3 separate regions of the Homo sapiens genome follow, and all the other regions are linked to region 3. The links are contacts of gene promoters, found by promoter capture Hi-C in blood cells and fetal thymus (Javierre and others, 2016). All regions are on one chromosome and are shown on one strand. The core of a region is centred on a gene start or on the middle of the fragment in contact, and the rest is flanking DNA. Distances in the headings are between cores, read along the strand shown.

Region 1 (4,812 bases), core at 2,313-4,812, 520 kb after region 3:
CTCTGTGAGGCAGCTTCACTGGCTGGAACTGGGTTCCCAGTAACACTCTGAAGTAAAGATGACAGGCCTGTAGAAACAAAGATTAGAGGGGTTAAAAAGAACAACTCCCTATCATACAATGCAAACAATGTAGGCTAATCAGATACTCTCATTCATTTTGGTGGGAACCAGATAGACAAAGTGTAAGGCCAAAAGGAATCCAGACCAAACAAGCAATGGCTAAATGTCACAGAAAATACAGGGCCTATTTTATCAATAAAGAGCAAATCACTGAAATGTTTCCAGTACAGTCCAGAAATCAGCCCAACATGGCACAATAAAAGGCAACAGGAAGGGGGAGATTTTAATGTCAGAATCATTCATAGTTTAAGTTAGGCAAAGCAGGAAAAGAAAGGAGGCAAAGTTATTCTTAAAACAACACTTTAAGCCAGTATTTCTTAATGTTTGATCTGTGGAAGTGTTTCTCTAAATGCAAACAGATCTGTTCTACCTTTCCTGTCCAACCTTCAAACCAACCTTCAACCTTCAAACTTATTATCTCTAATAAGTTAATATACATTGTTATTTTCAAGCGGGAGACAGGCAAATGCAAATTTCAGAAACTTATCTGAACAGCAAACACCTTTTTCAAGAAGCACCTCTTGGTAGACTGTTGTTACTTTTTGAAAAACAATGCTTTCAACCATCCGTTTTGGTTGTAAAATGTAGCTATAACAAACATACACCACAAAGACTTACAAAGACAGACCACCAGGGACACTGGTCCTTTCACAAGAAAACACACAATCCCCATTTTATAGTGTGGAAAATCCAAGGATTATTTAGTCCAGATTGACAATGATGGAATTTAACTGTGTTCACTGACAGTCAAAACTTTCTCAGAAGCACTGAGAAAGAATTCTTTGGGGCAAAGGCTGAAGTTCAACAAAGCAAACTGCTCCTGTAGAAAATTTTTTAGAAAAATATTTGACAAAAAGATAACAGAAGGTTCTATAAATTCAATCATATTTTTAAAAATTTACCCAATTTCTGGTCACAAATGAAGACTTTTGGCTGGGCACGGTGGCTCATGCCTGTAATCCTAGCATTTTGGGCAGCAGAGGCAGGAGGATGGCTTGAGGCCAGGAGTTTGAGACCAGCCTGGGAAACACAGAGAGACTCTGTCTCTAAAAAAAATTTAAAAATCAGCTGGGCATGATGGTGCATGCCTGTAGTCCTAGCTACTCAGGAGGCTGAGGCTGGAGAATCACTTGTGCCCAGTTCAAGGTTACAGTAAACTAACTATGACTCTGCCACTGCACACCAGCCTGGGTGGCAAAGTGAGTCTCTGTATTTAAAAATAAATTAATTAAAAAAATTTTTAATATACATTTCACCCAAATTTATAGCTTTTAGTCACTGAATACACTAACATTGTTCCTTAGTAATTATATGATTAAAGAAAATACTTCATGTGATATTTCAATTAACATTTCTTCAAAATTTCAATTTTAACCCATATTCTAACAGATTTGGCCTAAAGAATTTCAAGTCCCCTCCATCCTTGTAACATTTTAAAGCCATTTATTTCTAAATAATGTTGGATGGTCTTTATTGTTATCCAATATTCAGTAATATCCAAACAACTGAAATAATGTTTACTTTAGTTATGATCCTTCTGAAGAAAAAAAAAAATCGGCATGTTTCATTCCAAAAAAAGTTCCCTAGCCACATAATTCATCCCTACTAATAGTTTCCTTTTTTTTTTTCAAGAGACAGGCTCTTGCTCTGTCACCCAGGCTGGAGTGCAGTGGTGCGATCATAGCTCACTGTAACCTCAACCTCTTGGGCTCAAAAGATTTATCTGCCTTAGCTTCCTGAGTAGCTGGGACCACAGGTGTACATCACTATGCCCAGCTAACTTTTTTATTTTTAGTAGAGACAAGGTCTCACCATGTTGCGCAGGCTGATCTCAAAATCTTGGGCTCAAGTGATTGTCCCACTTCAGCCTCCCAAAGTGCTGAGATTACAGGCGTGAGCCACCATGCCCAGCCTGATTTAATTCTTAGTAATCACTGTTCTCACAAAACCCAGAAGTCCTCAAACACTAGAATGTGATATATAATAATGTAATATGATTTTTAGAAGATATTTCAGCATATTTTTCAGATATTTTGGGATAACTTCTTCAAAAGAACATCTTTTTAAGATAGATATACTACTCAGATTTCTGGTAATAGGTAAAATTGTCTCTCACCACTAAATATTACTGTTCTCCAATCTTTTTTTTTTTTAATTATTTTTAAAAATTCTTAAAAACAATAGAGATAGGGGTTTTGCTATATTGACCAGGCTGGTCTCAAACTCCTGGCCTCAAGTGATCCTCCCATCGTGGCCTCCCAAAGTGTTAGGATTACAGGCATGAGCCACTGCGCCCAGCCAAAAGTTTGCTCTTTAATCATAACAAGTCATACTCTGCTCCTTTGCCCACTGAAGTTTCTCTTTTTTTGAGACAGAGTTTTGCTCGTCGCCCAGGCTGGCTCACTGCAACCTCTGCCTTCCGGGTTCAAGCGATTCTCCTACCTCAGCCTCCCAAGTAGTTGGGGTTACAGCTGTGAGCCACCACGCCCAGCTAATTTTTTTGTATTTTTTTTTGGAAAGACAGGTTTACCCTGTTGGCCAGGCTGGTCTTGAACTCCTGACCTCAGGTGATCCACCCGTCCCCAAAGTGCTGGAATTACAGGTGTGACCCACCACACCGGGCCTGAAGTCTCTCTTTTGTGTTATAAATCTGTCAATACCTAGGGCTGTGGATGACACAATCAGAACAAAGTTCTGGGATTTCATTAACAGTCTTCGAGGAAATACATCTATTTAACTTGCTAGATACAATCCTTTTAAAAGTCAAAGAGAATTCCACATTCCATAAGGAACCTAGTTCTGTTCAAATTTTGCCTCATCAGAAATTTCACATCGGCCAGGCACGGTGGTTCACACCTGTAATCCCAGCACTTTGGGAGGTCGAGGCAGGTGGATCACGTGAGGTCAGGAGTTCGAGACCAGCCTGGCCAACATGGCGAAACCCCGTGTCTACTAAAAATACAAAAATTAGCCGGGCATGGTGGTGTGAGCCTGTAATACCAGCTACTCGAGAGGCTGAGGCAAGAGAATCACTTGAACCCGAGAGGCAGAGGTTGCAGTGAGCCGAGATCACACCACTGCACTCCAGCCTGGGCAACAGAGCAAGTCCCCGTCTCAAAAACAAACAAACAAATAAAAATAAAAAGGGAGAAAGCATAAACATGTCAAACTCTCAAATTGTCCCTGATATTAGTAGTACAACATGTGCTGCAGTCATCATCAATTCTTTATTGCTGATGCCAATAGATAGGGGCTGTGGATTATTACTTAATACTATTTAGTTCTGTGTAACAAAATTCTTCTGCACCTCCAGACAAAGTTCACTATAATATGCTTGAATGATCCACTTACATAACAGTTTAGGAAACTGTTTTACACCACTCCTTTGATAGAGAGCAGGGTTTCTCAACCTCAGCACTACTGACACTTTGGGCTAGATAATTCTTTATTGTTGGGGCTGTCTCACACATTGTAGGATATTTAGGAGCATCCTCCTGGCCTCTACTCACTAGAGGCAGTAGCACCCCTACCATTACCCCAGTTGAGACAACTAAAAAGGTCTCCAAATATTGCCAAGTGTCCTCCCTGGAGGCCTTTGGTTGAGACTACTGATATAGAGTAAATCACTACACTGAATATATTGCCCTGGTATTTGTAATTCATTTCATAATTATACTACGGTACTTAAAAAGGATTTCATTGGTATCTGGAGCATAAGAGAGTAGAGAGTAGGAAAGATTTATGAAAAAAGGTTAGAAACAGGCAGTGTCATGCACAAAACATAATTAGTAAAGCTGAACAGAAAGGGTCAAATGAGAGAGATTATAGGTAGGTGAAAACAAAAATACTACATCTAAGACTCTAATAAAATAATAAATAAAATAATAAATAATGAAGCCTCTATAAAACATTAGGACAAAAAAAGATATATTCATGTCTCAGAAATTTTTTTTTTTTTTTTTTTGAGGCAGGGTCTCATCACTTAGGTTGGAGTACAGTGGGGTGACCACAGCGTACTGCAGCCTTGAACTCCTGGGCTCAAGTGATCCTCCTGCCTTAGCCCCCTGAGTAGCTGGAACTACAGGCATGCACCACTATGCCCAGCTAATTTTTTTTTTTTTTTTTTTTTTGAGACAGAGTCTTGCTCTTTTGCCCAGGCTGGAGTGTAGTGGGGCAATCTTGGCTCACTGCAACCTCCACCTCCTGGGTTCACACCATTCTCCTGCCTCAGCCTTCCAAGTAGCCAAGACTACAGGTGCCCGCCACCACGCCCGGCTAATTTTTTGTATTTTTAGTAGAGTCGGGGTTTCACTGTGTTAGCCAGGATGGTATCGATCTCCTGAACTCATGATCCGCCTGCCTCAGCCTCCCAAAGTGCTGGGATTACAGGCGTGAGCCACCGCGCCCGGCGCTAATTTTTAATTCCGTTGTAGAGACAGGGTTTCACTATGTTCTTGAAGCGTCATAAAAAAATTTTTTTTTTTTTTTTTTTTTTTGGACTGAGTCTTGCTCTGTCGTCCAGGCTGGAGTGCAGTAGCGTGATTCCGGCTTACTGCGATCTCAGCACACTACAGGTGTGTGTCACCACACCTGGCTAATTTTCATATTTTTAGTAGAGATGTTATTTCACCTGGTTGGCCAGGCTGGTCTTGAACTGCTGACCTTAGGTGATCTGCCCGCCTCAGCCTCCCA
Region 2 (4,658 bases), core at 1,696-4,195, 600 kb after region 3:
AGCCAGAATCATCATGCCTTATAGCCTTTAACTCCTGGGCTGAGTGATTTTTCTGCTTTAGTCTCCCAACTAGCTGGGACTTCACACGCCACCACCACACTCAGCTAGTTACCTTCTTTTAAATATATTCCCCTACCACAACTCTTAATGTCTTAAAAATCATGCCTTTTGGCTGGGTGCAGTGGCTCACGCCTGTAATCCCACCACTTTGGGAGGCCGAGGCAGGTGGGTCACCTGGGGTCAGGAGTTCAAGACCAGCTTGGCCAACAGGGTGAAACCTGGTCTCTACTAAAAACACACACACACACACACACACACACACACACACACACACACAAATTAGCCAGGCGTGGTGGCAGGCGCCTGTAATCCCAACTACTTGGAGGCCGAGGCAGGAGAACTGCTTGAACCCAGGAGGCGGAGGTGGCAGTGAGCAGAGATCGTGCCACTGCACTCCAGCCTGGGCAACAAGAGCTCCATCCCTAATAATAATAATAATAATAATAATAATAATAATAATAATAATGATGATGATGCCTTTTATTCCTTCTGTCTTTTCCATTCTCACTTAGCTATGCATGCGTGCCTTCTGGTTATGACTCCTCTCTGATTCTTTCACACTTTTGCTTATATATCGGATGTCTTCTTTCACCTGTTTCACATAGTTTTTGAAAAACCGTTTCCTCCATGAAGCCTTTCTTACTGTATACAAATATAAATTGGTACTCCCTGCTCTGCAACTAGGATTTTCCCAGAAACTCTTACATTACCAAAGTTTTCCCCAAGCACGTTCCAGGAAACAATAGTCACATGAGATGGCTAAAAACGAAAGGGATTCCATGGTCAAATAAGTTTGGAAAATGCTGAATATCCTACCCACCCCTTCCAGAAACTCATAGGTCTTTGTATTAAGGGTACTAAAGTCCAGCAGCATGAAAGCAGGTTTAACTTTAATTTGGTAGTTCCTAAACTTTGACAGTGAAACCCTAAACTATCACCACTTTTTGGGAAATTCTGTTGCACAAAGTACAAATTTGTACTGTTATTTTTGTTCACTACTATAGTATGGTATATTTTCTCCATATCTTATCACATTTGTCAGTTGATGCATATGTGCTACATATGGCAATCTGAGAAGCCTAAGAGGACAGAAGTGAATTCTTATCCTAGTTGATACTAAAAATAGCATGCATGTGTGGGGATGTCCTATGAATGAATTTCAAAAGCTCTTCACTTTTCTATTATCAGGTTTTTTAAGTCTTCTTAAAGTGAAATTGTTTTATACTCCTTGTTTCTATTATTTATTTTTAAAAATCCAGTGACACCAAGAATACTGATGTCCTTTTAAAATCTCTTCTTTGGCTGGGCACGGTGGCTCACACCTGTAATCCCAGCAAGTTGGGAGGCCGAGGCAGGTGGATCACCTGAGGTCAGGAGTTCAAGACCAGCCTGACCAACACGGCAAAACCCCGTCTGTACTAAAAATACAAAAATTAGCTGGGCGTGGTGGCACGCGCATCTGTAATCCCAGCTACTCAGGAGGCTGAGGCAGGAGAATCGCTTGAACCTGAGAGGTGGAGGTTGCAGTGAGCCAAGATTGCGCCACTGCACTGCACTCCAGCCTAGGCAACAGAGCAAGACTCCGTCACCAAAAAAAAAAAAAAAAAAAACCTCTTATTTGAGGCCAGGTCTCGTGGCTCACACCTGTAATCCTAGCACTTTGGGAGGTCAAGGCAAGAGGATAGCTTGAGTCCAGGAGTTCGAGACCAGCCTGGGCAACATAGCAAGACATCATCTCTACAAAAAATTTTAATAGTTAGCTGACCATGGTGGCCTGCACCCATAGTCCTAGCACCTCAGGAGGCTGAGATGGGAAAGATCAACTGAGTCCGGGATGTCAAGGCTGCAGTGAGCCATGATCGCACCACTGCACCCCAGACTGGGTGACACAGTGAGACTCTGTTTCAAAAAAATAAAAATAAAAAATCCCAGCCGGGCACAGTGGCTCACTCCTGTAATTCTGGCATCTTTGGGAGGCTGAGGTGGGCAGATTGCTTGAGCCCAGCAGTTCTAGACCAGCCTGGGCAACGTGGTGAAACCTTATCTCTTATTCATTTATTTTTAAAAACTAGAAAGGTGTCTTCCTATGTTGACCAGGCTGGAGTTCAGTGGCTATTAACAGGCATGATCAGGGTGCACTGTGGCCTCAAACACCTGGCCTTAAGTGATCCTCCCATTTCAGCCTCCCAAGTAGCTGGGACTATAGGCAAGTACCACCGCACCCAACAAGATGCATTTATATTAGCACAATAGCTATAGGCCAGGTGCAGTGGCTCACGCCTGTAATCCCAGCACTTTGGGTGACTGAGGCAGGCAGATTGCCTGAGGTCAGGAGTTCAAGACCAACATGGCCAACATGATGAAACCCCGTCTCTACTAAAAATACAAAAATTAGCCGGGCATGGTGATGGGTGCCTGTAATCCCAGCTACTCAAGAGGATCACTTGAATCCGGGAGGCAGAGCCGAGATCGCCATTGCACTCCAGCCTGGGCAACAGAGCCAAACTCTGTCTCAAAACAAACAAACAAATTAACAAACAAAAAAGCTATAAAAACATAAAAAATTCTTAAGTTCTCAATGAATTTCTAGAACTACAAGATGTTGCTATATGAATAGGTCCTTGAAATAATCAAAATAGGAAAACAGCTTCCAAATTATATGTTCTTTTGCTATTTGCTAATATTAATAAGAAAGGGCTCAAAAAAAGCCATGTCCACTCCTTTACATTATTAACCTTAATAAACATTTCACATAGAGTACGCAGGATTAATCGGAAGAATTTAAAAAGCTTATGCAGACAGGCCTGCATAAAACGTTATAATAACTGTATATCATAACTGCATTTTAAATGACAAGTTATCATTTGCTGAATTTTCTAAATGTCAGGTAGTTTGCCAAACACTTCATATGAAGCATCTTATTTAATTCCAACAATCATATAAGGTGAGCTATACAATTATTATCCCTATTTAAAAGCTTTCAGAGGTTAGTAGCAACCATAATGTCTATTTGAGATCGAAGCCCATGTTCTTTACCAACTAACCAACATACAACAGTACAATACAGTATGTCTCCCTACATACATAAATCTAACAAAAACATTGTGTCCTGTGGCCGGGCGCGGTGGCTCACGTCTGTAATCCCAGCACTTTGGGAGGCTAAGGCGGGCGGATCACGAGGTTAGGAGATCGAGACCATCCTGGCTGACACGGTGAAACCCCGTCTCTACTAAAAATACAAAAAATTAGCCAGGCGCAGTGGTGGGCGCCTGTAGTCTCAGCTACTCGGGAGACTGAGGCAGGAGAATGGCATGAACCCAGGAGGCAGAGCTTGCAATGAGCTGAGATCACGCCACTGCACTCCAGCCTGGGCGATAGAGCAAGACCCTGTCTCAAAAAAAAAAAAAAAAAATTGTGTCCTATTGCAGCAGTTCTCAACGTGTGGTCTGGGGTCACACTTAAGGAAGATTCATTGATTAAGCACTTTTGTGTTTTTGGAGCCAGGGTCTTGCTGTTTTCCAGGCTGGAGTGCAGTGGCACAATCACAATTCAGTGTAGCCTCAACCACTGAGGCTCAAGCAATCCTCCCACCTCAGGCTCCTGAGTAGCTAGGACTGCAGGTACGCGCCACCATGTCTACCTATTTTTTTTTTTTTGTAGAGATGGGGGTCTCACTATGTTGCCCAGGCTGGTCTCCAACTCCTGGACTCAAGCAATCTTTCCACCTTGGCCTACCATAGCGCTGGGATTACAGGCATAAGCCAGCACACCCTGACAATTACAGCACTTTCTATGTTCCATGCCTTCTTCTAGGTGCTGAGGATGCAGTGGTGAACAAAACAAATAATCTGTTGTTAGCAGTTTACATTCTTTTTGGGGGTGAGGGGGGCCATGTGTCTCAATAAATAAGCAAATAAATAAACAAGGCAGTATCTTATAATGAGAAAAGCCATAAAGAAAATAAAGGCCAGGCGTGCTTCACGCCTGTAATCCCAGCACTTTGGGAGGCCAAGCCGGGCAGATCACAAGGTCAAGAGATAGAGACCATCCTGGCCAACATGGTGAAACCCCGTCTCTACTAAAAATACAAAAAAGTTAGCTGGACGTGGTAGCGAGCACCTGTAATCCCAGCTACTCGGGAGGCTGAGGCAGGAGAATCGCTTGAACCCAGGAGGCAGAGGTTGCAGTGAGCCGACAGCACGCCATTGCACTCCAGCCTGGCGACAGAGAGAGACTCCGTCCCAAAAAAATAAAAATAAAATAAAATAGGAGCCGGGTGTGGTGGCTCACGCCTTAATCCCAGCACTTTGGGAGGCTGAGGCAGGTGGATCACCTGAGGTCAGAAGTTCAAGGCCAGCCTGGCTAATAGCAAAACCTCATCTCTACTAGAAAAATACAAAAATTAGCTGGGCATGGTGGTGTATGCCTATAATCCCAGCTACTTCAGAGGCTGAGACAGGAGAACTGCTTGCCATGAGACAGGAGAATCGCTTGAACCCAGGAGGAAAAAAAACAAAAAAAAATAGGGTAATATGATAAGAGAATGATGGGCGAGGGAAAGAGGTGGGCTCTCAGACAACCACCATAAGGTCAACCTC
Region 3 (4,922 bases), core at 1,693-4,192:
CTCTCTCTTTATTTGTGTGTGTGTGTGTGTGTGTGTGTGTGTGAGAGAGAGAGAGAGAGAGAGAGACATGCTCTCACTCCTGTCACCCAGGCTGGTGTGCAGTGGCAGTGGCACGATCTCAGCTCACTGCAGCCTCAACTTCCCAAGCTGGGGTGATCCTCCCACCTCAAACTCCTGAGTAGCTGGGACCACAGGCGCACACCACCATGACCAGCTGGTTTTTTTGAATTTTTAGCACAGATGAGGTTTTCCTTTATTGCCTGTGACTGGTCTTGAACTCCTGGGCTCAAGTGACCTGCCCACCTCAGCCTCCCAAAGTGTTGGGGTGACAGGCATGAGTCACCGTACCTGGCCTGCTTCTCTTTTTTTAATGATCACATCTGGGTCTCTCCCCTGAGAGACTGAGGCACTGGTGGGGGCAAGAGGAAAGACCCCAAGGGAATAGAACTTAGGCAGCCAGGTTGCCAGATAGCTCACCTATGGGGAGTACAGGAGAGGAGTGGCCTGTCCTACAGCCCCTTCTCCAGCATCTGGGACCCCTCCCTCTATATTCTTACTGTGTTTGTAGACTGCCAGGCACTCCTGCAGCTGGGGTGGGGTTCGAGTGGCAAGAATTTCAATGGCCACGTCCACAGCAGAATCTGAGGCCTACAAGAAATTGGGAGTCTACTCTCAGACTGGCCGTGTCATTAGGATGGCAGACAGAGGGGCAGACGCTGGCTGCTTCTCCTTCTAAGAAACAATATGGGACGACGAGAGGGGGACTCTCGTCTTGCAAAAGCAAGGCTGACAGCCTTCTCCCTTCCCCAGACACCCCAGCAAGTCTCCCCTCCTGCTACCTTCAGAGCTGTCCTCAATTCCTGGGCGTCAAACTGGGCTGTGGGCTGCAGCAGAGCCATCACAATCCTCTCCAGGTTGCCGGAAAGTGCTGCCTGTAGAGACTTCATCAGGTCCTACAATAAATGGTCCTCACAGCAGAGGGACGGGGGTGAGGGGAAGGGCCCCAGAAGTGTGGGGAGGTTTGGGAAGATTTGGCTGGTTTTCATCTCAGGCCCTGTTTAGCCAGGAAGCAGGGGCTGGCCTCAGCGGCTGTTGCTGTCTCTCGAGTCCTCCAGGGGGTTTCTCACCCCAGTCCACTGCTGTGGGAGGTCAGCATGGCCTCACCTGTTGGGTGCGCTCCTGGAAGTTTCGTGAGATGAGCTGCCTTTGCTCTCTGCTCCGGTTGGTCAGCACGTCCACAATGGCACTGCGGTCCACGCCTGAACCGAGATGAGGGCTGTGCTGTGAGCAGGGTCTTTACATAGTGGGATGTTCCTACTCCTTGGAGGAGGGAAGGCGCTCCAGGAGAGGGCTGGGAAGGAAAGGAGCAGGGGCTATATCACCCCCACTTCCATTTTATCTCAAAAGAAGTTGCAAATAAAATGTCAAAACAGCATGCAAATCTGACCCAGACCAAGGCAAAGGTGGCCTGGTGTGGTGGTTAAAAAAAAATACGACTTGGGGGGATCGGCTGACCTAGATGAGAATACCACCTCCGTCATGAGCTGAGTGACCTTGGGCAAGCCTCTTAATCTCCCTGAGCCCCAGTTTCCTCATCTGGAAAATGGAAATAATAAGCCTTGCCTCACAGGGGTGTTGTGAGAATGGGTTTGACACACCTACTGTGGCGCCTGACATACAAGAATGAAGGCATTCCACAAACATTTCTCCAACATCACTAGTTCCTCCTTCCTGGCTCCTCCTTGGTCTACAGATTGGCTCTAAAAGGCAGTCTCAAGTGCCGGGGGAAAGGGGCTCACCTTGGCCAGTAATGGCCCTCAGTAGCCTCTGCGCATCCTTGTCCACGCTGAAGTTCAAGAAGGTCCTGAGGGTGCCCAGGGTCCCCCACGCTGCAGTCTGTGGGAGCACAGGGTAGTTGGCAAGGGCCAGGGCCAGGCTGCCTACACCTCCTCAGCATAACCTCAGGGCCTGTCCTCCACTTTCCTGCCTCCCATCCTCTCACAGCCCGAGCTGAGATACTAAAAGTGATCTCTAAAATCCCAACAGCCCCTACCTTGCTGGCCAGGCCCAGGTGGCTGAGGATCTCCTGGGTGAGGGACGGTGCCATCTTCCCGCCAGTCACAGACATGGTGCTACTGGTTGCCCTGGGGAAGGAAACAGGAGCCCACAGAGCTGAATTTCCTGGCCCTTCAGGGACTCCTTATGACCCCCCCGAGACCCTGGACCCTGGGTTCCAGTCACCTGTTCCTTTCCTTGCTGCAGAAAAAAAGATCAACCTGCTTAGGCTTGGAGCCAGAAATGGAGCTGAAATGGTGAGGTAAGAGGGGAGCCCCCACCTTCCCCACCTCTCCCCACTCCTTTAGGAAGTGGGGATTGATGCGGAATGCTCCTGGACCAGGCGCCAACCCTCCCTGATGCCAGGGTCAGCACCAAAGCTCCTCAGGCCTTGGTCCGCGGTAGATGCCTCCCTTCTGAGGTCTATGGCCCTCCTTCCTGGGCCTGGCTGGGGTCTCCTGGGCAGTGCAGGGGAGCTGAGGTGAGGTGGCAGGATTAACCACGCAGAGTGGAAGACAACTCGAAATAGCATCTTCCCCCACCGGCAGCCCCAGCTGACAAGCAACCCTCAATTCCTGCCTGTACAGCTGCCTACCTGCTCAGCAGCACAGGAGCACAGGCCGGAATCTCTAGGTCAGCAGGTGCAATCTCTTAGCTGATGTGAGCAAGAGTTCTTGCAAGTACGTGGATGCCTGGACAGAAAGGAGGCACTCTCATGTTGGAAAAGGAAAACTCATTTTTCCCTCCCCCAAGCAATCAACAAGCCCTCCTGGCATGGGGCCGTGGGCCCAGTACTTACTCAGAGGTGCCAGAGGTGAGGTGGGTGTCGTTGTTGTGGCCTGGTAGCTTGCCTGTGTGAGCACTGCCTCCGGTGTGGCCTGGTAGAGGAAAGTGGGGGTGTGTGCAGCCTAGGCTGAACAGCCAGTCAGATGACCTCTCTTAGGGACGAACCCAGCAGTTGTCTGACTCTGGCCCCTCCCAGACGTGGGAGAGGACCGGGCTGTACAGAGTCCCACATGCAGACACCTTCCTGCCCAGCATCTCTTCTCCCAGGAACTGGGCCTCAATCCATGTGAGTGAACTCCACTCAGCCTCTCAGCGGCTCAGCCTCAAACACAGGAGGCTTTTATGCACTGCCTTCCCTGTGGGTCCAGGTGGGACCACAGAGACCTAGTCTCAAAGTCCAGCTTCTGACCTGGCTCTGCCCCAGCTTCTGACCTGGCTCTGCCTCTGGCTCCAGCTCCCTGGGGGGCAGGTCAGACAGGCTGCAGGCTGATTTCAAGGCTGATAGGGAAAAACCTGTTGGGGCACATACCAGCAGGGCACCCCAGCCTGCACCCCAGAGGGGGTCCCAGCCCAGAAACTCCCTTGACTGCTGCCTTACTAGAGCCAGCTGACCTAGGTGGAGAGTGCCCAGGGATTGTGTATATCTGTGGAGAAGGAAGGGCACAAGTATTTGGGAGTGGAAGTTGATGAACAGAGTCAAGAGAGAAAAATGCAAAGGGTGTTACCTTCAGAGGGAAGCTCTATGCTCCCAAAAGGCAACAGGGAGATGGGGGAGGCTCCCTTGCCTGGTTTCTTAGATTGCTTCTGTTGCCTTTTGGCAGCCTGGGCCCTGTGGCTGTTTTAGCTGCAGGTGATGCAACCCCAGCAGCTGGACTTGAGGCTGTCTCTGCACAGAGCAGCAGGTGAACAGCCCTGTGGAGCCCCCGCCCCGCCATGCAGCAACTGCTCCAGCCTCACAGCTGGCTCCCTCAGGTCTAAACACAGCCTCTTTCCTGCCTCCCTGGAGAGCCTGGGTAGGGGCGGGGCACAGAAGCTACAGCCCTGCCTCCACTCACTCCTCTGCCTCTCTCCCAACTCAGGAAGGCCTTCACTGGCATTCCTACATCCCTGGAGGAGGGACCTGCAGTGGCTCCACCACACTGAGTAGACCATGCCGGAGGACACGCCATGAAAGGATATTTCTGTGGCGGTAATCACTGCTCCTCACTTTTCTCTCCTGTTAAAAGGAAAACATGCACCTGTGTCAGAACTGGAGAATGAGGGTTCAATATCCAGCTCTGCCACCTATGTTCTGTAAGCTTCGCTAGTCCTTTCAGCTCTCTAAATGGGAGGATTGAGAGAGACGGAGGCTGTGGGACATGCTGGGGCCTCCGAGGACAGGTTTCCTGGGATGATTAAATGAAGTAATGTGTCCACTAAAGAACTTATCCATGTAACCAAACACCACCTTGTCCCCAAAAACTATTGAACTCATAAAAATAAATAAATAAATAAATAAATAAATAAGGTAATGTGGCCAGGCACGGTGGCTCATGCCTGTAATCCCAGCACTTTGTGAGGCCGAGGCGGGTGGATCATGAGGCAGGAGATCGAGACCAGCCTTGGCTTACACAGTGAAACCCCGTCTCTACTAAAAATACAAAAAATTAGCCGGGCATGGCGGCGCATGCCTGTAATCCCAGCTACTCGGGAGGCTGAGGCAGGAGAATCACTTGAACCTGGGAGGCAGAGGTTGCAGTGAGCTGAGATGGCGCCACTGCACTCCACAGCCTGGGCGACAGAGTGAGACTCCGTCTCAAAAAAAAAAAAAAAAAAAAAAAGTAATCTGTGTAATTGCATGTGGCAGAGAAAAGTGCCCTGTAAAGTAGGGGTATTAGATTAAATAAATAAATATACAGGACATGCAGCTTAATCAGAATTTCACGTAAATGAGGAATCATTTGTTGGTACAAGTATGACCCAAATATTTCATTAAATATACTAACATTTTTTTTTTTGAGGCGGAGTCTCTCTCTGTTGCCCAGGCTGGAGTGCAGTGGCATTATGTTGGCTCACTGCAAGCTCCACCTCCCGGGTTCAAG

The links. The method cuts DNA at HindIII sites, captures the fragments that hold promoters and counts their contacts. A CHiCAGO score of 5 or more calls a contact.
Region 1: a contact is called between a fragment that was not itself captured here and the fragment with the promoter of ANXA9 in region 3, in 3 of 17 cell types (fetal thymus, naive CD8 T cells and total B cells). The highest score is 9.0, in fetal thymus.
Region 2: a contact is called between a fragment that was not itself captured here and the fragment with the promoter of ANXA9 in region 3, in 1 of 17 cell types (total B cells). The highest score is 5.9, in total B cells.

The regions. Positions count from the first base shown.
Region 1 is chr1:150,465,816-150,470,627 of GRCh38, reverse strand. It overlaps RPRD2 (regulation of nuclear pre-mRNA domain containing 2), which reads right to left. Exons shown (of 11, transcript NM_015203.5): 11 at 1-67. Among named protein-coding and RNA genes, the nearest start is that of TARS2, 19 kb to the left of the region's middle. The HindIII fragment of the contact is 7,293 bases long and covers 1-4,812 here.
Region 2 is chr1:150,380,319-150,384,976 of GRCh38, reverse strand. The region is part of intron 1 of RPRD2 (regulation of nuclear pre-mRNA domain containing 2); the gene reads right to left. Among named protein-coding and RNA genes, the nearest start is that of RPRD2, 19 kb to the right of the region's middle. The HindIII fragment of the contact is 188 bases long and covers 2,852-3,039 here.
Region 3 is chr1:150,980,312-150,985,233 of GRCh38, reverse strand. ANXA9 (annexin A9) reads right to left here and starts at 2,942. Exons shown (of 14, transcript NM_003568.3): 1 at 2,855-2,942; 2 at 2,651-2,747; 3 at 2,054-2,144; 4 at 1,800-1,896; 5 at 1,165-1,259; 6 at 840-953; 7 at 558-648. The coding sequence starts at 2,128. LOC105371438 (a long non-coding RNA gene) reads left to right here and starts at 3,729. Exons shown (of 3, transcript XR_922135.3): 1 at 3,729-3,813; 2 at 3,921-4,030. RefSeq lists an enhancer at 1,557-2,418. The HindIII fragment of the contact is 18,662 bases long and covers 1-4,141 here.